7 separate regions of the Homo sapiens genome follow, and all the other regions are linked to region 1. The links are contacts of gene promoters, found by promoter capture Hi-C in blood cells and fetal thymus (Javierre and others, 2016). All regions are on one chromosome and are shown on one strand. Each heading gives the region's core, a stretch centred on a gene start or on the middle of the fragment in contact. The rest is flanking DNA. Distances are from core to core; before and after follow the strand shown. Region 1 holds the start of CHCHD6 (coiled-coil-helix-coiled-coil-helix domain containing 6). Region 2 has its middle 14 kb from the start of ABTB1. Region 3 overlaps PODXL2 (podocalyxin like 2). Region 4 overlaps PODXL2 (podocalyxin like 2). Region 5 overlaps TPRA1 (transmembrane protein adipocyte associated 1). Region 6 overlaps LINC02034 (long intergenic non-protein coding RNA 2034). Region 7 overlaps LINC01471 (long intergenic non-protein coding RNA 1471).

What was found. The method cuts DNA at HindIII sites, captures the fragments that hold promoters and counts their contacts. A CHiCAGO score of 5 or more calls a contact.
Region 2: a contact is called between a fragment that was not itself captured here and the fragment with the promoter of CHCHD6 in region 1, in 2 of 17 cell types (naive CD4 T cells and non-activated CD4 T cells). The highest score is 7.4, in naive CD4 T cells.
Region 3: a fragment that was not itself captured here is called in contact with the fragment with the promoter of CHCHD6 in region 1 in 5 of 17 cell types (total B cells, naive CD8 T cells, naive CD4 T cells and 2 more); the score reaches 7.1 in total B cells.
Region 4: a contact is called between a fragment that was not itself captured here and the fragment with the promoter of CHCHD6 in region 1, in 2 of 17 cell types (non-activated CD4 T cells and naive CD8 T cells). The highest score is 5.6, in non-activated CD4 T cells.
Region 5: a fragment that was not itself captured here is called in contact with the fragment with the promoter of CHCHD6 in region 1 in 11 of 17 cell types (total CD8 T cells, non-activated CD4 T cells, naive CD4 T cells and 8 more); the score reaches 14.1 in total CD8 T cells.
Region 6: a contact is called between a fragment that was not itself captured here and the fragment with the promoter of CHCHD6 in region 1, in 16 of 17 cell types (naive CD4 T cells, total CD8 T cells, naive CD8 T cells and 13 more). The highest score is 16.7, in naive CD4 T cells.
Region 7: a fragment that was not itself captured here is called in contact with the fragment with the promoter of CHCHD6 in region 1 in 7 of 17 cell types (endothelial precursors, M0 macrophages, M1 macrophages and 4 more); the score reaches 8.2 in endothelial precursors.

Annotation. Positions count from the first base shown.
Region 1 is chr3:126,702,500-126,705,758 of GRCh38, forward strand. CHCHD6 (coiled-coil-helix-coiled-coil-helix domain containing 6) reads left to right here and starts at 1,741. Exons shown (of 8, transcript NM_032343.3): 1 at 1,741-1,900. The coding sequence starts at 1,814. RefSeq lists enhancers at 1,321-1,380, 2,441-2,992 and a silencer at 1,931-2,130. The HindIII fragment of the contact is 1,689 bases long and covers 1,120-2,808 here.
Region 2 is chr3:127,685,076-127,688,334 of GRCh38, forward strand. No RefSeq gene overlaps it. Among named protein-coding and RNA genes, the nearest start is that of ABTB1, 14 kb to the left of the region's middle. RefSeq lists enhancers at 28-137, 528-657. The HindIII fragment of the contact is 5,603 bases long and covers 1-3,259 here.
Region 3 is chr3:127,656,966-127,660,224 of GRCh38, forward strand. All of the region lies in intron 2 of PODXL2 (podocalyxin like 2), which reads left to right. Among named protein-coding and RNA genes, the nearest start is that of ABTB1, 14 kb to the right of the region's middle. The HindIII fragment of the contact is 157 bases long and covers 1,669-1,825 here.
Region 4 is chr3:127,634,420-127,637,678 of GRCh38, forward strand. The region is part of intron 1 of PODXL2 (podocalyxin like 2); the gene reads left to right. Among named protein-coding and RNA genes, the nearest start is that of PODXL2, 6.9 kb to the left of the region's middle. The HindIII fragment of the contact is 4,056 bases long and covers 1-3,259 here.
Region 5 is chr3:127,575,861-127,579,119 of GRCh38, forward strand. TPRA1 (transmembrane protein adipocyte associated 1) reads right to left here. Exons shown (of 11, transcript NM_001136053.4): 4 at 1,130-1,216; 5 at 961-1,033; 6 at 757-836; 7 at 80-190. Among named protein-coding and RNA genes, the nearest start is that of MIR6825, 2.2 kb to the left of the region's middle. RefSeq lists an enhancer at 1-175. The HindIII fragment of the contact is 5,084 bases long and covers 1-3,259 here.
Region 6 is chr3:127,554,902-127,558,160 of GRCh38, forward strand. LINC02034 (long intergenic non-protein coding RNA 2034) reads left to right here. Exons shown (of 7, transcript XR_007096067.1): 7 at 1-1,976. Among named protein-coding and RNA genes, the nearest start is that of LINC01471, 19 kb to the left of the region's middle. The HindIII fragment of the contact is 799 bases long and covers 1,235-2,033 here.
Region 7 is chr3:127,528,404-127,531,662 of GRCh38, forward strand. The region is part of intron 5 of LINC01471 (long intergenic non-protein coding RNA 1471); the gene reads right to left. Among named protein-coding and RNA genes, the nearest start is that of LINC02034, 7.3 kb to the right of the region's middle. The HindIII fragment of the contact is 5,147 bases long and covers 1-3,259 here.

The DNA.
Region 1 (3,259 bases), core at 491-2,990:
AGGTAATTCACATAAACAAAAGTATAAATGAAAGAGGAGACATTACAACTGATATCACAGAAATACAAAAGATCATAATCAACTACTATGAACAATTATACACCAAGAAACTGGATAATTTAGGAGAAATGGACGAATTCCCAGAAACATACCATCTATCCAAACTGAGTCTTGAAGAAACAGAAAATCTGAACAGACCAATAACGAGTAAGGAGATTGAATTAGTAATCATAAACCTCCAAGGAAAAGAGACAAAGGAAAGCCCAGGACCAGGTCTGACCACATCTTTACTCAGTTTTCCCCGCGGCCCCCGGTCCCCACCCCTCTTAGCCTGTCTCCCTAACTTCCTTTCTCCTGAGGTGCTCCCCCAGGAAACTCCTTGCACCAGAATCCCCTACGCAGGCTCTGCTTATAGGGAAGAAATGGACGACAGAGGTGATGGAGTGGGGTGCGCCAATGAAGTATTTTGAATGAAACTAGCAGACACCTTTGTTCCTAAAGATTCCATCGTCACACCAGCTCTGGGATGTTTACTAGCTTCTTCACCCTGAGCTATTCTCAATCTCAGAGCCTTACTGCTCTCTCTCAATCATTCTCTCCTCCTCACCCCTTTCTTTCCAGGTTGCCAATAGGAGCTCCAAATATTTTCTGGCTATTTCATGTAGCCATCTAGTTTTCCTCAGCTCGGCTTCAGGCGCACTTTTGCAAATCAAAGCCATTCAGCAACTCAGAGGAACAAAAAGGGGCTTATTTGAAGGTAGCAGTGTCTATGACTGGCAACCGTCTGTGTGCTCCCTTACACATAGGGTCCTGTGTAAGAAGCCTACACACAATGCCTGGCACACTGCACTCCACACATGGTATGTACACTCCTTGGGCAATGCCTCCTAACGGCTTAGGACCATTCCCTGTCCTCCCGGGGCGTTTAGAATAAAACCCACACTCAGACCCTGCCTCACAAGACCCGACATGATTTGGGTCCTCACCACTCCTCTGCCCTCTTCTCACTTTCCAGCCATGGGATGACCCCTCTTTCTCTTTTCCTGCCTGAGACTCCCAGGAAACCTCTTCCCCTACCTTTTTCTACATAAATCCTACTCTCCCGCCGGCTCAGTTCAAAGCTTCTTCCTCAGAGGTTGCTCTGGCCACTGAAATTAAAAGAGGCCTCCTTCTGTTCATTTTACTAGTGGCATCGCCATGCAGTTTTCCGTGTATTACAGTCAGTTTCCTTGCGTGCGTGTTTGGCTTTTCACTTGTTTTCCCCTTGCACTGTAAACCTCTCAAGGGCAGGACACTCGCTGTCTTGAGGGGCGCTGTAATGCCAGGGCCAGGTCCCTGCTCGTCTGGCGCTCAGCCCGTGCTGCTCTACACGTGTTTGCTGAATGAATGGAGCAGTGAACCCTCAGAAATTCGCCTCCAGATGAGCGCCTTGGCCGTCTCGGCGTCTCCTGGCCTCAGAACATCACCCTTGGCTCTCCCTCAAGGGGGAGCTCCCAAAGCGAGAACGTGACCCTGTCCTGCACCCAGCCCTCCACTCCAGGGCCTCCGCCGGTACACATCTTCGGCCTCAGCCTAACGCACTCTAGCAGGCACAGACCGCCACGCCCCCACCCCTCCAGACGGAAGGACTGCAATCCCCACAAGGCACCGCGACTCAGCGCCACCCGATTGGTGAAGCCTCTGGCGTCGGCCAATAGGACGTGGCTTTGTTGGCGTGTGCCGCGGCCGCGCGAGTCCTGGAAAGCGTTGTTGGCCCGGTTGCTCTGGAGCCGGGTCTCGGGTCTGGTGGCTGCCGGCCCTGCGGCATCTCGCCATGGGGAGCACGGAGAGCAGCGAGGGCCGCAGGGTGTCCTTCGGAGTGGACGAGGAGGAGCGGGTCCGGGTGCTGCAGGGTGTCCGGGTGAGCGGCGCCGCCTGGGCCGGGGCGGGCGTGGAGGCCGCGGGCGCGGGGGGGAGGTGCGGGGCGGAGCGCAGGGCCGGGGCTCTTTCCACGCGTGAGGGGCGTGGGGCTTGGGAGACTCCGGGGGCTCAGGCCAGGAAGAGGCTGAGCCGAGACGCGAGCCCGAGGCTGGCAGCCTTGGAGCTTCGCGACATGGGCTTCAGGGAAGGAGGAGTGAAGAACTGTACAGGTGCGAGGCCCCTGGGACACGAGGGACGCCCTGGCCACGTCCTGGCTCCGGTCGGCTTAGTTTTTACGTTTCTTGAATTTGCGCCCGGCCTCCCAGCCCGTGGCCCCTCAGGTGCGCGCATCTCGTTCTGGGTACGCGGTGTCTCCCACCTGGGCTTTGCCTGGGGACTCAGCTCTTCCCCGCCGGCCTGTTCTCCACAGCACATCTGCGGGGCGCAGGAAGAACCATAGCTCAGATCTGATCCCCTTCCTTGCCTGAAACCCTCCAGTGGGTTCCTAGCGCGCTTGGATGATGCCTTCCCTGGTTCCAAAGCTGGCCGCTGCCCGTCGACCTCTGGGGACTGCATCCCTCTGGGACTGCATCTCGTGCCATTTCCCTCGCGTGGCACCCGCACCTCGTCCCCAGCCTCAGGACCGCCGTGTTTTCCTGGAGGGTGCCGCTGGCTCAGCTCAGGGTCTGTGCGCCGGCTGTTCTCTCTCCTTCAGCTCTCCTTAAATCCCGCTGTTTCTTGTAATTCTTGTTGTAATTCAGATATCACCAGAGAATCCTTCCCTGACCACCCAATCTGAAGTAACCTCCCACCCCGCGTCCAACATTTATTATTTTCATAGCACTCATCACAGTGATCGCTTCTGTTGATAATTGTTTACTTGTTTATTGCGTTTACTGCTAGAGTGTAAGCTTTTTGAGGCTAAGGTTCCTGTCTGATTGAAGACTGTCCCCAGAACCCAGAAGAATAAAAGCAGCTCTTATTGCAGTGTAGGGGCCATGCGTTGGACTAAACCCTTTATAAGTTAACTGATTTAATTTTCAACAGCCCTATTTAGCCCATTATTGTAGATTAAGGAGAAGTGAGGCACTGAGAGGTGAACGAACTGATCCAAGATCATGTAAATAGTAAGTGGGAGAGCTGGGATTGAAACAAGCCAATTCCAGGGCATGTTGCTGTGCTCGGCCTCTTCCTCCACCTGTGTCTACACCTGCAGGTGCTTTGTAAGTAACTGTGGAGAGATGAATGAACCCAGTAAAAGGGACTAGGATTAAATGAAACGCACAGAGCTGGGTGTAGATGAATTAGTTAATTAAGGAGGAATTAGGGAGGTGGCTTAGAAAGACAGACTTCAGGAGTT
Region 2 (3,259 bases), core at 361-2,860, 980 kb after region 1:
GCACCTCGAAAACTCCCCCGCAGACCCCTCTGCTGTGCCCCCAACCCCGGCCCGCTCCTGCTCACCTTTGGCTTCTGGAGGGCTGTGCTGGCCCCAGGCTGTGCTGGCGGACACTGGGTGCCCATCGCTGTTAGGCTCTGGGGTGGGAGTCCATGTCGCCCGGGGTCCTTGTTCTGTGAGGGCGGCCCACCTTGTTCTGCCCTGGTCACCGTGCAGCGCTGGGTTCCTCCCAGCGCTGGACACCGTGCCTGGAGCATCACAGGTGCCCAGTAAGGGGCTTGTGATGAGCCTGAGTGTTCATGGAGGAGGCTGGAAAAGCCAACAAATGCAAACATTGTTGGCTCTAGGTTTGATACAGTGAAGTTCCAGGCAGAATTTGGTTGGCCATAAGTAGAGCATGAGGACGTGGAGAGAACGGGCTGTCCTTCAGGTCTGCACACCTTTGGGGGACCTTCTGCACAGAGGCCAGGTGCCACCCACCCAGGGCCTGAGTGGTTTGCAGGGTCCAGTGCAAAACAGCACGTGGGGACCTTGCTCAAAGAGCATTAAGAATTTCCAGAGAGCAACAGTAGAGCACTCACCCAAACGCACGGACCTTCTAGGGTGGGGTCTGGGCCTCTGCATGGGTGGCCAGGCTGCGAGGCCAACCCTGCTTCCACACCCAGTTCCCAGCTCAGTGCCTGGCTCAGATAAAGCCTTCCTGCCTCCTTCCTCCCTCTTTCCATCCCTCTCTCCCTCCCTTGGCCACTCATTCATTCCTTCATCACTCCCTCACTCAACCATTCTCTCGCTCACTCATTTCCTCATTTATTCATCCCCTCACTCATGGACTCATCCATTCTCTGATTCTTTCATCCCCTCACTCATTCCCTCATTCATTCTCTCTCACTCATTCTCTCATTTATTCATCCTCTCACTCATTCACTAACTCATCATTCTCTTATTTCCTCTCATTCATTCCCTCATCACACATTCCCACGCTCACTCATTCCCTCATTCATTCATCCCCTCATTCATTCATCCCCTCATTCATTCTCATTCATTCATTCTCTCAATTCTCACTTATTTATTCATCCCCTCACTCATTCACTCATCCATTCATTCTCTCACTCATTCCCTCATTTATTCATCGCCTCACTCATTCACTCATTCTTTCACTCATTTCCTCACTCATCCATTCTCTCACTCATTCACCCATTCATTCATTCTCTCACTCACTTCCTCACCCATCCATTCCCTCATCACACATTCCCTCACTCATTCCCTCATTTATTCATCCCCTCACTCATTCACCCATTTATTCTCTCATGTCTTCACTTGCTCATTCATTCCCTTACTCATCCATTATCTCATTCATCACTCATTTCCTCACCCACTCATTTCCTCAGTTCATCCCCTCATTCATTTTCATTCATTCACCCATTTCCTCACTCACTCATCCCTCATTCATTCACTTGTCTCTCATTCCCTCACTCATTCATTTTCTCTCATTCCCTCATTCTTGTTCCTTCATTCATTCATCCCCTTGTTCACTCATGCTCTCACTCATTCATTCCCTCATCCATTCTCACTCATTCCCTCATCACTCATTCCTTCATTCATTCTCTCATTTCCTCAGTCATTCCTTCATTTATTAATTCCCTCCCTCATTCATTCATTCATTTTCTCACTCCTTTCCTCATTCATTCCCTAACTTATCCATTCTGATTCCCTCACCACTCATTCCTTCATTCATTCATCCCCTCACTCATTCCCTCATTCACTCACTCATTCTCTCATTTATTCATCCCCCACTCATTCACTCATCCATTCATTCACCCACTCATTCCCTCATTCATTCATCCCTTCACTCATCCATTCATTCACTCATTTCCTCACTCATCCATTCTCTCACTCGTTCATTCATTCATTCTCTCACTCATTTCCTTACTCATCCATTCTCTCACTCACTCGTTCACTCATTCCTTCATTCTCTCACTCATTTCCTCATCCATCCATTCCCTCATCACACATTCCCTCACTCACCCATTCCCTCATTTATTCATCCCCTCACTCATTCACTTATTTATTCTATTTCTTCACTTATTCATTCCCTCACTCATTCATTCTCTCAGTCATTCATCAGTCATTTCCTCACCCACTCATTCCCTCAATTCATCCCCTCATTCGCTTTCATTCATTCACTCATTTCCTCACTCACTCATTCCCTCATTCATTCACTCATCACTCATTCCCTCATTCATCCATTCTCTCACTCATTCCCTCACTCATTCATTTTCTCACTCATTCCCTCACTCTTGTTCCTTCATTCATTCATCCCCTCATTCACTCATGATCTCACTCATTCATACCCACACTCATCCATTCTCACTCACTCCCTCATCACTCATTCCTTCATTCATCCCCACTCATTCTCACTCATTCCTTCATTCATTAATTCCTTCCCTCATTCATTTCCCTCATTCATTCACTCCTTTCGTCATTCATCCATTCTCATTCCCTCACCACTTATTCCTTCATTCATTCATCCCCATTCACTTACTCATTCTTCTCACTCACTCATTTCCTCAGTCATTCATTCACTAATTTCCTCATTCATTCCCTTGCTCATTCATTCACTCCCTCATTCCCTCACTCACTTATTCCCTCATTCATTCACTCACTTATTCATTCATTCCCTTGCTCATTCATTCACTCACTCATTTCCTCACTCATTCAATCCATCATGCATTCATTTTCTCACTCATTCATTCACTCACTTGCACAGTCCCTCACTCACTCATGTCAGTGCACTTTTTACATTTTTCTCCTTCAAAGAGAAACCAGAGAGATAATATGGGGCTATGGTAGGCGCTCTCTGTGGGGACCTGGGCTCAGCACCTGAGCCTTCACCTGCCCTGCATGGGATGGGGGTTTGGCTCCTCCTGAGAGAGAGGATAAAGAGAACACATCATTCCATCACTCACTCATTCATTCACTCACTCACCCACTCCTTCCCTCCCTGCCCTATCAGGCAGGCCTTTCCAGGGACCCTCTGGGAAGCAGGCAGAGGTGTAGTGCAGGGATATGCCCTTTTGCAGCTCACAAGGGAGGGGACAGAGTGCTACCAAGCAGACAAGCAGAAGATCTGTCATGTCAGATGTCAACAAGTGTGCTGGAGGAGGAGAAGGCAGGGCAGCACCTGGGGGAGGGCCTCACTGAGAAGACAGCCCGTGAGGAGGCTGGCATGGTGAGGACTGAGTGGATGTGGAGGATGGGG
Region 3 (3,259 bases), core at 497-2,996, 950 kb after region 1:
CGGAGTTTGAGGCTGCAGTGAGCCGTGATTGCACCACTGCACTCCAGCCTGGGTGACAGAGTGAGACCCTGTCTCAAAAGCAGAACAAAACCTGAAGCCCAGAGAAGTTGGAGGGACTTACCACTGCGTGCGCAGATAAGTTAGTGGCTGAGTCCCAGATCATGCTGCCGACAGCGTGACTGATGATGCATCTCTGAGGAGGCTGTACACAGTTTAGGGAGTTCTGTTGGTGCCCTCTGGAGATGTTGATGCTCTCTCTGACTTTTGGAAAGTCAGCACCAAATTGAGTAGAGAGATCGTTTTAGTCAGCTTGCCCTCCCAGGACTTCCCCACCCCATGGGATTCTGCTGATGGGTGTGTCACCATCCACCATATTCCTGCCATATCCTAGGCTGCATTGAATCCATCAGCTATTTTAAGTGCGTCCTGAAGGTTTCCAATACTCCTTTCCTCTGAACTTCACCATCTCTATTAATGGCTTGGCTACTCCCGCAGCTTCTCCCTGTTGGCCATCTAGCTCACGCATCTGATTACTTCTCTTTCAGAGTCATCTCTTGAGTCTGCTCTTTTCTCATCATCTCCAGTGTCATCACCGCCATGCATCTCTCCCGAATCACTGCAGCAACTCCCTGACTCTTCTTTGCACTTTCATTCATCTACTCCTTCACCTAATCTTGTAAATTGCTGTCAGATTAATCTTCCAATAATGAAATATTATGCTTGTAAGTGATTTCATATATTGTATTTCCTAGGCACCCATCTGACTCCTATTCTGTTACCCAGTATTCCTATCAAGTAATCATCCAGCCCATTTCAGTTATGTTTTCATGCATTATATCTTAATTCTGGATAGATCTGGCTATTATAAAGTTCTTACTTACATTGAGGTAAAATATATTTATTCTTCTATATACTTGTTTTGTGGGTGTGATTTCCTCCTGAATCTTTCTGAAGATATTAACAAGAAACTTTTCTGAATTCTCTTTTGTTAACTAGACTAACTTTTCCTAGAGGTCAGTTGCTTTATGGTCCCACCCTTATGCTTCTTCATCAGGCTGGCTTTCTTAAAATGTCTTGTGAATCTTGGTTGTTCTTTCTTTCTTATTTATCTGTAGTGACTTCACTACAGAGTGTGTGCAGTAGGTGGAAGAGGGGGAGGATCTGCTACTCAAAAAGTCTAATTAACAGAAGTGGACTGGATAGAATATTCTAATTATTGATTTAAATACTATAGTGGGCTTTCAGTTGTCACTAGGATTGTTCAGCTTCTAAGTCATACTTTTTATTACAGGGAATCAATTTTTCTTTTTGAAATAATCGTTCTCAGAGCTCTCTCTGTGTGTTCTAATTTGAACCAATTGCTTTCCAGGCTTACTGCACAGTTTCCATCCTGAGATATATTTTCATTGCATTCCTCTCATGTTTCTTGATTTCCCATGTCTTTTTTTTTTTTTTTTTTTTTGGTTTCTTAAATAACTTACTTAAATCTCTTGGAATCTGTGGATAGTAACACTTTTAAATCTTTGCATGTATGAGAATGTCTTTATTTTGCAATCACACTTGAGTAGTCATTTATTTGGATATAACATTTCAGGTTCAAAATAAACATCCCTCAGATTTTTCAGTGCATTTTTAAATTCTTCCTCTAGGCTACTGATATTAATTAGAAGCTTCATGATAATTTGGTAATCTGTTTCTTGTTCCTTTACAGATAACCTGTTCTTTCTCTGAGAGCTGTTAAGATTTTCTCTTGCTCCTTATAATTCTAAAATCACATGAGAATGAGGCTAGGTGTAAGTCTTTTATCATTCACCTTGATGATACAAGCTTTCATTGCAAAGATTCATGTTGCCAGCTCTGAAACTTTTTTTCTTTGTTTCTCTCCATTATTCTCCATTTTGTTGGTTCTATCTTTCCAGAAATCATATTAGCTAGGTATTAGATCTCCTACATTGGTTGTCTGTATCTTTTAACTCTTATCTGTTGTCTTCTCACTTTTGCCCTAGAGGCTTTTCCTTGACTTTTTTTTTTCCCAGCCATTAAAAATTTGAATTTTCAATCCGTTGAATTTTTAAATATCAACTATTGACTTTCAATATCCAAGAAATTTTTCTTTTTTAAAGATTACTTGATTTTCTGAGTGGCGTCTTATTTTAGGGATGCAATATTTTGTAATCTTTCTGAGGATACTAATTAGACTTTTAAAAATTACCTTCTGTTCTCTGAATTTTCTGTGTTCTACATCCTTGCTCCCACAGTTGTGCCTCTTCCTAACTCTGGGTAAGAAAGCCTGCCTCCTCCCCTGCTATTTTTTCCTATGTTTATTTTGGCTGAGGGGTTATCTGTTCCTATAATCTCATCTGCTTTCCATGTTCCCAGAAATTTCTCTAAAATGTTTTTATCTTCATTTTGACAGTTAAAATTGTTTTTGTCATTTGATAAAAGTTTTGGAGGAGGAGGTAAATGAATACCTTTAGTTCGCTATCTTAAAGTGTTCCCACCACTCTCCTTTCTAAAGAGTATTTTAAAACTACAATATTTATTATTTTGAAACAAAATGGCAGCCAATAAAAGTTGCTTCCTAGATACAGCTTCTGATATTTTGAATGAATTTCCAAAAAACTTGTTGTATAACTTTCATGCATAGTTATTTGGAAGAGGCCTAGGGTTCATTGAAAAGCCAGAAAACAATCTGATCTCCAGGAAGTCTCCTAACTTCTCTGCTTCAAAATGTAATTCCCAAGAATGGCAGGGAGAATAAAAACCCCTCTCCCATTGCCAACAGTGACCCTGAACATTCTGGGAGGCCCTGGAAAACTCTGGGCTCAGCCCCTGGCCTCTCTCTGGCTCTCCCTACATCTTTTTCATTTCCTGTCAGGGCCTAAATTACAGAAAAAGAGCACAGTTGAGGAACAATGGTCATAATTGAGGGGTCTCACTTCCTCCAGTGATGAGAGGGCTCTCAGACCTCCTTCGGGGACTCCACCAAGAAGACTCTTATAACGACTCACTAGAAAAGGAGTAGGGGGACCCTTCCTAGTGGGTTGTTGTGGGATCTTCTTGGTGAAATCCCCAGATGAGGACAAGCAAGCACATTACAAACACAGTGGAGAATATATACCTCAAACTACTCATGGCTCTTTTGGAGGAATGCAATATACAAAACTTTCTACATTCCTGTGTTCATTGAGTTTTGGTGATAAATTTGTATTATTTTATCATCATAAAGGAAACAGTGACTAGCCTTGTCCCTGTGTCC
Region 4 (3,259 bases), core at 191-2,690, 930 kb after region 1:
CATCTCAAAAAAAAAAAAGTTGACTGGGCACAGTGACTCACACCTGTAATCCCGGCACTTTGGGAGGTTGAGGCAGGCAGATCACCTGAGGTCAGGAATTGGAGACTAGCCTGGCCAACATGGTTAAACTCTATCTCTACTAAAAATAAAAAAAAAATTAGCTGGGCGTGGTGGCAGGTGCCTGTAATCCCAGCTACTCGGGAGGCTGAGGCAGGAGAATCGCTTGAACCTGAGAGGCGGAGGTTGCAGTGAGCCAAGAACGCGCCATTGCACTCCAGCCTGGGCGACAAGAGTGAAACTGTCTGAAAAAATAAATAAAAATAAAAAATAAATAAAAAGACCTCTCTGAGCTTTGTCACTCAAAGTGTGGTCCACAGACCAGCAGCATCAGTCACACCTACTGTGTCAGAAGACTCGGGTGACTCACACACATTTCAGTCTGAGAAGCGCTGATTAGAGGGCAGTGTTCGGGACAGATGAGTGCAGGGGGAATTGCTAGGGGTTCGTAAAAGAGCTCTCTTTTTCTTCCAGCGGTGAAGCACTATGAGGACTGTAATTCTAATGGAGGCGTCTCTCATGTCTACACATCTATGTTTCTGTATCGTCTCTGCTGTTTTGCTTTATCGTGAAGTGTGGGGCATTTCGGCCATGTGCCCCCCTGAGTGGCATGGTTGTCTACCCTAGAGAAAGGGAAACTGAACACATGTTCCTGAGATCCCGGTGTTGTTATTTCCTCCAGCCTCCTTTCTCCTTCACAGTGTACTGAGCACAGTTAGTACAGTGCCATGAGCAGTTCTGTTAGTAGCTACCTTTGAGATCTCTCTCCCTGCCCTACTAACCCTGTGGCTCAAACAGAGTTATATGGTCACTGTTACACTATTCCATAATGATTTGTTTTCTTGCTGGTCTCTGTAGTAGAAACTGACCCTTTTGGGGCAGGGACCCTATCTTTCTTATTTCTGTACCAACATAGCCTTGGATCATGCCTAGTCCAAATAAGCATTTAATAAAGGCTTTTTGGTTGAAGAATGAATGAATGGATGGATGAATGAATGGAATTTAACCATTCAAACACTACTCTGATCCAAAAGGAGAACTTGATTTATAATTTGTCTTAATGTATCATTTGGCTATTTCTGTGTAATAAATCACCCCAAAATTTAGTGGTTTCAGATTCTCAGTTCTTAAGATCTGATCCCTGGACAGAAGCATCACCTGGGAACTTGCTAGAAATGCAAATTGTTGGGCCCCGTCACAGACCAGCTGGATTCAGAACTCTAGGGTGGGCTTAACAGTCTCTGTTTTAACAAGCCCTCATGGTGATTCCATGCTGGTTCAAGTTTGAAAGCACTGGATTAAAACGGTAGCCATTTATTTAGCTCATGATTCTGTAGTTTGGCAATTTAGGCTGCAGTCAGCTGGGTGGTTCTGGTCTCAGCTGAACTCCTTCAAGTTTGTCATCAGCTGTTTATCACCTTTGCTGGTCTTGTCTGGCTCTCTCACTTTGGGACTTCAGCTAGGACACTGAGCTGATCTGGCTCTCTTCTGCATGGGCTCCTGTTTTCCTGCAGGCTAGCCTTGAGCAGAATCCTGAGAGAATGGAAGCGTGCAAGGTATCTTGATGCCTAGCCTTGGAAATGGCACATCATCACTTCTGCATTGTCTTGTGTAGCAACTCACAAAGGTAGCTCAGATTCAAGGAGTGGAGAATTAGATTTCATCTCTTGATGGGAGGAGCTACAAAGTCTCATTGCAAAGATGTGTGTTATTAATTGGGAGTCATTGGATAACCCCTCTCAGGAAGAACCTTAAGAAGGTACTGTTTTGGGGTAGGACAGGGCACTCTGTTTCTTTCCCATCTACCTAGTAGGGGATAGATACTGCTTTCTTCTATAATATTCGGGCTAGGAAAAAATCCAAGAGTAGCTTAGGGTCCCCCCGTGATGTGAAGGGGAATTAGAGTGGAAGAGGTCATGGGAAAGTCTTGAGCTAGAGAGAGTACAAGTCCTTAATTCATCCTCTCCCAGGAACAAAGGGGAACTTCAAGGGGAGTGGACCCCAAATTGATTGTCTTGGCTTTCTCTGCCTTTTAAATACCTTTGGCTCAAAGAAACCACAAAATATGAGATGGCTGTTTCTCTCTTTGAGTCAGGGATTCAGACACAGGCTCTGGGAACATGACTTCAGCTTCGTGGAGCCAGGCCCTGCCTGGAAGCAGAATCTTTGTCCGTGGACATGGTGCCTAGGACAGCAGAAGACATTCCGGATGGGGTGTGATAGCTTCCTGGTTTGGACTTGGCAGAAGGCAATCCCCTGTGAGCAGTCCTCAGGAGCACTGGCAACACAGCAGTGCCATTGGCTCCCACCTGCCCAGGGTCACAGCTTGCCCACCCTTTAGGTATTTTTTTATTTTTATTTTTTTGAGACAGAGTCTCACTCTGTCGCCCAGGCTGGAGTGCAATGGCACCATCTTGGTTCACTGCAATCTCTGCCTCCCGGGTTCAAGCAATTCTCCTGCCTTAGCCTACCAAGTAGCTGGAGACTACATGCGTGTGCCACCATGCCCAGCTAGTTTTTGTGTTTTAGGAGAGACTAGTTTTGCCACATTGGCCAGGCCTGTCTCGACCTCTTGACCTCAAGTGATCCGCCCGCCTCGGCCTCCCAAAGTGCTGGGATTTACAGGTGTGAGCCACCACACCCAGCCCCATCCTCTAGTTATGATGATACTTTCTAAAGCTGAGAGTTGGGCCTGTGAATTATCTTATTGAGAGACAGAGCTTCACGGGATCTTAGAGGTTGGCACAGACGTTTACTAGCCCTGGTCAGATGCTAAGGCTCTGATGCCTCCTTAGCCCCGGCGTTGGCTTTGAGGCCATGTAGAATCACTCTGATATTCTTATTCACATCAACCTTTTGTTTTAATGTATTTGAAGATACCATGGTCTCTTTTAAATATTTTTTTCCCCGGGCCATGAACTTCACAGGTCTCTGTTTTTTATATAGGATAATAACACAATATTTGTAGAATAGTTTGGTTTGTAAAGCTCTTTGTAGAGCAGCTTTCACACATGGCTCACCAATTACCTCATTTGGTGCCCCTCACACTGGAGGCATGGTAGGAATTGGTGTCCTTATTACACAGAGGAGGAGAGCAAGGCTGGTGGTGGTGAAGTCACTCAGCCAGAGAAGCCAGAGTGTAACCTATTTCCTGGTACCAGGCTTTCTCTCCTGTTATATAGAACATCTTCCTGTCTCTGAC
Region 5 (3,259 bases), core at 2-2,501, 870 kb after region 1:
ACAGCCAGAAACCCAGGAATCCAATCCCTACCTGGCCCTAAGGCCCCAGCCACCCCAGCTGCCCCAGCCTGAACCTCACCAGGAAGAAGAAGCAGGAGCTGACCAGCCAGAACTGGCGGCCCCCATGGCCATAGATATTAAAGTCCTCAGCTGAGAGATGGGCATCAGGGTACAGGATCTCCAGGGTCCCCTGCAGGGGCAAGCAGGAAGGGAGGAAGGGAGAGGATCTCAAGGCTTCTCTCTCCCAGGGGCTTTCCCTGATGCAAAGCCCCCTAAGCTCTCCACCACACCAAGTTCAGCCTCTTGGCCTGACCCTCAACTCACCTGCCCCAGTCTGCTCCCTGGCCATGTCCTGCCCAACTGATTGCAGCATCCAGAGCCGGCCCAGTCTTGGGCTGAGTCACATGGGGAAGGGGGCAGAGATGGACAAGGTGCAGTCCCTGCCCCCAATCTAAGAAAGGGGCCTCTAGATGCATGCTTCTCAGGGGGGTCTGCGGACCTGCACCATCCCTACCTGAACTCCTTATTAAAACGGCAAGTCCTGAGCCTCCCATCCTGGCGCCCTGGCCCACTGGATCCAAATCTCCAGGGGACCCCAGAATGTGCCTCGGTAACAAGCACCCCATGTGATTTCTCAGGTGCAAAGTTTTGAGAACTCTGAAGGTGATAAAGACTGGAAACCTGACCCAGACCCAGAAGCAGTGGGTGCCTGGTGCCCTGACTCCTAGCGTCCCCTGCCCACACTCACCCTCTTACCTGGGTGACAGAGTAGGCCAGGGACAGCACTGTGGTGATGGCCAGCACCCGCTTGATGCTGGACTTACTCTCCAGGTGGCCTGGAAGAAACATGCTGGTCAGCAGGCAGGAGCCAGCCCAGGTGACCACTCCAGAGTCAGCCCACAGCCAGGGAGGGGCAGGGGAGAGCATCGCCAGGGCCCAAGAGCCCAGCGGTACACACACCAAAGGCCAGGCCCAGGATGATCACACTCAGCTCGATGGCCAGCAGGAAGAAGCGGGTGATCTCCCACAGGATCTGCACGCAGAGTGGGCACAGCGTCAGCCTGGACCAGCATCCCCAGCCCACCCCAGGCCAGGCCTCCCTGGCCTCCCTCAGAGGGCCCAGCCGCACCTTATCAGCAACAGTTGCAGCGTTCGAGGTGCTCACCGTCATGGATACCACGGCCCGGGCAATGCCCACCAGCGCCACCACAAACACCTGGTGGGCAAGGGAGTGGTGTGGCAGTCAGGGAACAAGAGCCTCTGCATCGGCAGGGGCAGCAAGCCCACCCCCATATCTACAGGAGCCTTTGATTCCTGAGGTCGGAAAGGAGGAAGGCGCAAAGTCAGGGTGGGACACAGGGAGGTGGGGATCACTCCAGGAAGCAAGGCTCACAGAGTTGCAGACCCTCAACTGCAGGTGACTTCCAGCCTGGCCCTCCCTCTCGGGGCCCCAGCTTCCTGGCTAGCACCAACAGCCTTGGGCTGGTGAGCAGGAGTGCGCATGGTGGAGCCAGATGGGCCAGGTTCACATCACAAGCAGCACGCTGCTGCTTCCTGGCTCTGTACCTTAGCTTTCTCATCTATAAAATGGGGGCAGAAACAAAACCTACTGTGTTTGATTGTTGGGTCAAATGGATTAACAGATGCAGCAGAAGCCTGCCTGGCACCCAGGAAGGGCCAAGTATACATTTGCTGTTATTACCGTATTCATGGTTTTAATTCTGAGGCATGCGGGACCAGGCAAAAGGTCACCGAGAAGAGGTGCAGAGACCTCTAGGGAAGCCACCAGCCCAGCAGGTTTCACAAAGTGCCTGCTCAGCATCTGTGGTGCTTATCGGCCTGGTATATCCATCCCCTTCCTCTCCCTTCTCACCCCCACTTCGGTGGTTCCAGGTGAGGCTGAGTCCACCGCTCCTGGCTTCAGGGATGGGCCTGGGACGCAGCACTGGCCAGTGGTGTGTGCCATTCCCCTGGCCTCAGGGCTAGTTCAGGGAAGGGCATAGGCCCCAAGGGAGCCTTGTGAGAGAGACCCAGGATGTCAGGTGGGGCTGCTGGGAAAGGCAGACGGACAGCATGCAAGCCTGGCACCATGGACACCACCCTGCTGCCACAAGGGCAGATGGCGAGAGAGCAGGGCCATCGGGGAGATCCCAGGCTGAGTGGGAGATGGAGATGGTGCCCCAGCAGCACTGCTGTGCCCCCAAATCCTGCTGTGCCTGAGGCCCAGGAACTGCCCAGTTTCTCAGTCAAAAACTGGCTTCTGTGAGTCTCAGTTGGGTCTTCTGACACATGCCCAGATCCATATATACTCTGTCTTTTGTGCCATGAGAAATTGTGTCAGCAGGGCAGGCAGTAAAAGCAACAAACTACCACACGCCTACTGTATGCCAGGCTCCCACTGGGCTGCAGCTATGCAGACGACTTCATAGGTGCTCACATGAACACCATAGCTAAAGCAGATCAACATCTGTTATGCAGAAGGGCACTGGGGCACAGAGAGACCAAGCCACTGGCCCCAGGTCACACAGCAGCATGGCTGGGGTTCAGAGCTGGACTTCCTGAGTCCACTCTTAACACTGCCTCCTGAACTCTTTAGGACAAAGTCCCCAAAAGTTGATGGGCTGGGCCCTGTTATATGTTCCTGGACATTTAGCCCTGGCTCTTTCTCCCTGCCTGCACTCCCCCTTACCCCACAAAAGGACATCTGCCTAGCATACAGTAGGTGTTTAATATCTGTTGAATAAATACACAAATGAATAAATGGTGAGAGAAGCAGTGGGAGAGAAGCAAAGAAAGCAGGCCTCAGTTCCCAGTCCTGTCTACCACCATCTTGTAGGTGTGAGGGACATCAGGCCACTACAACCTCCAGGCTTCCCCAGCCCCTTGTCTGTCTCTCTGCCTGCCCACAGCCCACTCCTCTGACTGGGAAGTTCTGGGCTAGACCACAAGGAGGGGACCAGGGAGCCACTCAGCTCTCATGTGGTGGTATCTAAGGGCCACAGAGAAGGGAGGACTCCAGTCAGGCAGGCCCTGCAGACAGGGGAAGGGCGCCCTGAAGGAAGGCAGCTGGACAGCCCACACCCGAAGCCCACACCAGGACAGCCCGCACCGGAAGCCTACACCTGGAGAGCCCACACCCGAAGCCCACACCTGGACAGCCCACACCTGAAGCCCACACCTGGCACCTATACTGGGACAGCCCACACCTGGAGCCTATACCAGGAGAGCCCACATTTGGAGCTGCCTTCTCAACCACAGC
Region 6 (3,259 bases), core at 384-2,883, 850 kb after region 1:
ATAACTGCAGTCTCAGAGAAGACCCCCAGAAACCCAAAATGCTTCCAGCCACAGAGGAGGAGAGCAGCTGGCAGCCAGAAGCATCCATTCCAAGTGAGAGACATCGAAGGGAACAAGGCTTAACCGCCTTGTCTTTGAACAGCACTAAATGATTCAGCAAAAGGGATGAGAGGAAACCTTTGGCCATGTCACGGGTTCACAGCCATCTGTATATGTTCCTATAGTCCTGCTTTGTACCTCCAGCCTAAATGATGGGGAGGTCGTTTGAAGATGAGACTGACCCTTCACTACATGTGCTGCTTCCAACCCCAGATTCCATCAGGCTGCACTTCTGAGATTCAGTGAACTCCCACTCATCCTTCAAAACCCTATCTCAATGTCGCTGCCATAGCAAAGCCTTCCCTGGCCCCCTCGGGTAGGGAGGGTCTCTCTGCCCACTGGCAGGCCAAGAAGGCCAAGCTCTGCCCTCTGAGAATCCATCAGTGTCCCAAGCTGACTTTCCCTAGCCTCGTATCCCTTCATTCCATGAAAGGGGAACTTAGGGTGGAGTGGAAATTTTGATCATCTAAAGGAACAATAATTGCTTTCATTCATTCATTTAAACAATATGTATTGAGCACCTACCAAGGACCAGGCCTTGTGCTAAGTGCCCCCACAGAGGTCACAATAGTCATATACTACAAACAAATACAGCATCACAAAGGTTGGCGCATGAAGAGACAGCAGCTAAGGGCATGGTCCTGGAGCCAGAATGCCTGGATTTGAATCACAGCTCTACTACTTCCCAGCAGCTTGTTGAGCTTAGCCAAGTCTCTAAGCCCCTCTGAGCCTCAGCTTTATCACCTGTAAAATAGGGATAAAAGCAGCATCTGCCCTATTCATCTGTTCACAGGAATACATGGCCTATGGAGGGAAAGTACCCAGGCTCCTGAGTGGGCCCTCCTGGCCCACGGCAGAAGCCGTGTGCATGTCTGTTCAACAGATACCTTTGGTGGCCTGTATGTACCAGGCGCTTCTATTCTCTGCTGGTCAAGGAAGGCTCACGGTGGAATAGGATTTAGCCCCGGGAGAGACAGCAGGGGCATTCTAAAGACATCGACTAGCTGGCATCCTGTGCCAGGCATCCCAACCTTTTGCGCATCGCGGCTCACCTGGAAAAGACGTGGGGGTGAGGAAGGAGGTGCCACCTGCATGAGGCATGGCAGAAAAGCATGACATCACCTTTATAGTGCAAAGCTTGACAGGAAGAATAAGATACAAAGTACTTAAAGAAGATAATCGATATTGGATGTGTATTAAATTTCCAAGGAAAATATTTTTAAATATGTAAATTAATCTTGAGTTGGCTTCTACAAGCATAACTTTTTTTTTTCTTTTTTTTTATTTTGATACAGAGTCTCGTTCTATCACCCAGGCTGGAGTGCAGTGGTGTGATCTCGGCTTACTGCAACCTCCGCCTCCCGGGTTCAAGTGATTCTCGTGCCTCAGCCTTTTGAATAACTGGGATTAAAGGCGCACAACACCATGCCTGGATAACCTTTGTATTTTTAGTAGAGGCGGAGTTTCACCATATTGGCCAGGCTGGTCTCAAACTTCCAACCTAACCGGGACCCACCCTGATCTGCCTGCCTTGGCCTCCCAAAGTGCTGGGATTACAGGTGTGAGCCACCGCAACCAGCCTTACAAGCATAAATTTTTTTATACCAATGTACCAGGTTTCATGCTTGAGCTGACTAAGCACAGTCCGGGATCAGGAATGTTTTTCAGGGGTCAGTCCTTTGGGTTCCTGACAGTCACCACTGATGAGAAGCGGCCGGGCAGGCAGTAGTGGATGAGGACCACCTGTGGCACTACAGAGAGCCCTCTGGTGGCAGGTGGGATGTCGACTGGGCACAGCTGCTGTGACTGAATCTGAAAGGTGACAGTGGTGCCAAAGTTACCTTCCAATAAAATTTCAACTGTTGCACGTTTTTGAATGGTTGTGAAAAAATGATTTTGTAACTATAAAAATGTATAACTACAAAGAATCTGTAAGCTTCAATGGCTGGCAGGTTAGGGTTGGAAACCTGGGAGTTTGAGGGCTCCAGGGCCTGGGGTGCTGGGGCGTAGATGGGGAGGGAGGGGAGGAGCACATGGGGGCCATGCCAGAGGGGAGCCGAGGGAGGGGGCTGAGCCACCGAATAGATCTGTGTGTTTCAAAGGTCTCTGTGACTGAGTGTGCAAATGGAATAGGATGGGGCAGAATAGAAATGACAGTGTTGGCCTAGAGGAGAGGGAATGGCAGCGTGGACCAGGCTGGTGGAGGTGGGAAGGAACAGGTAGATCGAAGCTACATTTTGGAAGTAAAATGCACAGGACTTGGTGACAGAATGGATATGGGGATGAGAGAGTAGGGGGTGTCAGGAGAATTTCCAAGGCCTGGCTCCTGGAACTGGGCAGGCAGGCATCCCCTTTGGAGTGGTAGCAGAGCCGCTTTCCTTACCCAGAAGCCGGCTGGAGTGGGGGTGAGGGGTGTCACAGGTCAACGCACCTCCCAGTTTTCTGGGGACAGTCCTGGTTTATACCTATCATCCCTGAATATGTACCTATTGCCCCTTCCACTCTCAAAAATGTCCCTGTTTTCCTCTGAATGATAAATAAAAATAAATGTAAATAAATTTTAAAATAAATGAATGCATGGGGAGAAGAGAATGCTCTTCCTAACAGTGGAAGCTAACTGGTAAATGTGGAAGGGGTGGAGTATGTGATCTGAAAGTCATTATTTGGCCGCCACTTGGGGAACAATTGTTTCAGGCAAGAATCAAAGGATACTAAAACTGGCAAGTAAGGGCCAGGCACAGTGGCTCATGCCTGTAATCCAAGCACTTTGAGAGGCCAAGGCGGGTGGATCACTTGAGGTCAGGAGTTCGAGACCAGCCTGGCCAACATGGTGAAACCCCATCTCTACTACAGTAGAAAAATTAGCCAGGCATGGTGGCACATGCCTGTAATTCCAGTTATTCGGGAGGCTGAGACAAGAGAATTGCTTGAACCCAGGAGGCGGAGGTTGCAGTGATGAGCTGAGATCGTGTCACTGTACTCTAGCCTGGACGACAGAGCAAGACTCCATCTCAATTTAAAAAAAAAAAAACTGGCAAATGGAAGGTGGAGGGAGAAGAGAGGATGCACCTGGGCTCAAAGCACTGCCTCCCCACAGAGGCATGTTACTCGCAAAGGGGAAGAGCACATTTCCCACATTTACAGGGAAGAAGGCTCCTTC
Region 7 (3,259 bases), core at 471-2,970, 830 kb after region 1:
CCAGGGGAAAGGCTAACAAATAAAGAAACAGATCTCTCCCTGTCAAAAAGGGCATCGAGTTCATGTAAATTAAAACGTGGGCCTGGCAGGCCTCCACAAGGCACGTCAGAGGTCCAGAGGCGCTCATGATGCTTATATGCTTGTTGTTCTGTGATGATTTAAAATGCCCTCAGAGCTGCAGGCACCATGGTGGTCTGGAGAGGTGCAGGTGAACCAGGAGCTGTGCAGCCTTTGCATATAGAAGAAGAGGAGGGTTTTCCTATAGATCCTGGTCAACGATGGAGAGGTTTCCATGAGCTCACTTGTCTTTGAAGTTAAGAAAAAAAAGTTTCCATGAGCACAGCAAAGGGGCATAGAGTAGACCCTGGCCTAGATGACATGGAGGGTTTTGGAGGAAATTGGGAAGAAGAGTTTTAGAGGACAACTCATGAATGCGTAGAATTAGCATGGATTGGCTGTGGGTGTTTGTGGATCCAAGGACTGGCTTTCGTCTGGCCTGGACCCAGGCCTCTCCAAACCTCAGCCCAGCCCCATCCCAGCTGCCCTGCCTCCAGACCCTGCCCACCCTCTGAGATCCAAGGAACCTCTCATTATAGCTTGGCTTTCTGCTCTATGCACCCCAGGGTATCACCCAAGGTCATGTTTAGACTTTTCACAAGAATTGGACAATTAGAGCAGACAAACAGTATGAATAACAGCAGTGCACAGCTCAGAATCTTGAAGGAGGCTGGCGTAGAGGATGGTGTATGTGTGCAATTTCAAAGGGCTTTACCCACTGGAACTGCTGCAACCAGAAAGATGGAAGAAGTCAAGGTACTTTTTCTTATTTCCCCCCACCAAATACAGCTAAAAGTCATGGGTATTCTGTGTAGAATGAATACAAGGAGGCCCTAACATGTGCAGAGAAGCACAAGCTGGGAGCCTCAGGACCTGGCAACAGCATGGTGGTGAGTTCCATCTTTTTGCTTCGTGTTTGCCAAACTGGGTGCTAAAGAGTCAGCAACCTAGAAATACCAACAGGCTCAGAAAACAATCCCCCAAAAAAACCTGCTCCCTCTAGCCAGGCAAGGGGCATTCTGGAAAACTTTAGAAGATAACTGACCTACGCCATCAGACCACACAGGAAAAGACGAGGCCCCACACCACCCTGGCCAGCAGAGACTGAGGAGGGAGCCTAGACCTCCACCCTCACCCAGATGTACTGACTGAGATGCCACCCCTCCTTGGGAAGGTATTGGAGAAGCCCAGCTGGGGGCAAGGAAGTCCACCACAGCCGGGCCTCAAAGGAGGCTGCTGAGACAGAGGTTTAAATAAGGCCAGGAGCCCCACCACATAACCCCTAATATCCAGGCTTCAATCACAAATCACTCCACACCAGGATCCAGGAAAACACCGACCCTGATGAGAAGAGATGCAGAGACTAACCCAGGATGACACCAACAGCAGCATCATCTGAACAATTTGAAGCCACCATCACAAAAATGCTCAACGGCAAACACAACAGAATCAAGTGAGAAAATAGAAAATCTCTGCAGAGAAACAAGCCACAAAGAGGAACAAAATGGGAACTCAGGGTTGAAAACGCAACAGCCAAAATTAACTCAGTGGATGGCTCAACGCCAGAACAGAGAGGCTGGAGGGAAGAGTCAGTGAACCTAAAGATAAAATAATAGAAATTACTTAATTTGAACAACAAAGCAAAAAATAGACTTAGATAAAAATGAGCAGAATCTCGGGTATGTATATTTTGGCCTATATACATTTTGGTCTATATTTTGGTCTCTCTATTACAAAAGGCCTAGCATCCATGTCGTGAGAGACCCAGAAAGGAAGAAAGATGAGGGTGGAGCTGAAAAGATTTTCAAGGAAATAATGTTTAGAAATTTCCTAAATTTGGCAAAAGACATAAATTTACAGATTCAAGAACCTGAGCAAACCCCAAATGGCATCAATCAAAGCAAACCTATGCCAAGACACCTTCTATTGAGACTTCGGAAAACTGAAGACAAAGACAAAAATCTTGAAAGTGGCAAGAAAAAAACATCTTGGCCAGGCGCCATGGCTAACGCCTGTAATCCCAGCACTTCGGGAGGCCGAGGAGGGCAGATCACTTAAGGTCAGGCGTTCAAGACCAGCCTGGCCAACATGGCAAAACCCCGTCTCTATTAAAAATACAAAAATTAGCCAGGTGTGATGGCGCATGCCTATAATCCCAGCTACTAGGGAGGCTGAGGCAAGAGAATCATTTGAATCTGACAGGCAGAGGTTGCAGTGAGCCAAGATCGCACCACTGCACTCCAGCCTGGGAGACAGAGAGAGACTCTACCTCAAAAAAAAAAAAAAAAAACAGAAACAGGCTGGGTGCGGTGGCTCACGCCTGTAATCCCAACACTTTGGGAGGATGAGGCGGGCAGATCACGAGGTCAGGAGATCGAGACCATCCTGGCTAACACGGTGAAACCCCATCTCTACTAAAAATACAAAAAATTAGCCGGGCATGGTGCCACGCGCCTGTAGTCCCAGCTACTCGGGAGGCTGAAGCAGGAGAATCGCTTGAACCCAGGAAGCAGAAGTTGCAGTGAGCCGAGATTGTGCCACTGCACTCCAGCCTGGGCGACAGAGAGAGAGAAAAAAGAAACAGCATCTTACCTGTAAGGGAAAACCATTTTAATGACAGCAGATTTCTCACTGAAACCATGGAGACCAAAAGGAAGTGGCACAGCAATTTTCAAGAGCTGAAAGAAAAGAACTCTCAGCCCAGAATCTTACATCCAGTGAAAATATCCTTCAGAAATCAAGAGGAAATCAAGACATCTTCAGAAGAAAAAAAAAACAGAGACTTTGTCACCAGCAGACCTACCCAAAAGGAGTGATTAAAGGAAGTTTGCCAAACAAATAAAATGAGAAAAGAAGGAATCTCAAAGTGTAAGGAAGGAAGAACACAGTCAACAAAATATAGATAGAGACAATAGACCTCATCTCTTGAGTTTTCTAAATTATGCTTGACAATTGAAGCAAAAGTTATAACACTGAATGATGTGATTGCCAACGTATGTAGAGGAAATACTAAAAAGAATTGTTATACAGGGGGAGAGAACAGGGAAAGTGAAGGACTTAGGTTTCTCCTCTTCCCCCCCCCCCCCCCCCCACTGATAAAATGTCAACATCAGCTAACTGTGATAAGTTATATATGTATAATCTAATACCTGGAATGACCACTGAAAAATCTGCACAAAGAGATGCTGTCAAACGCACTATA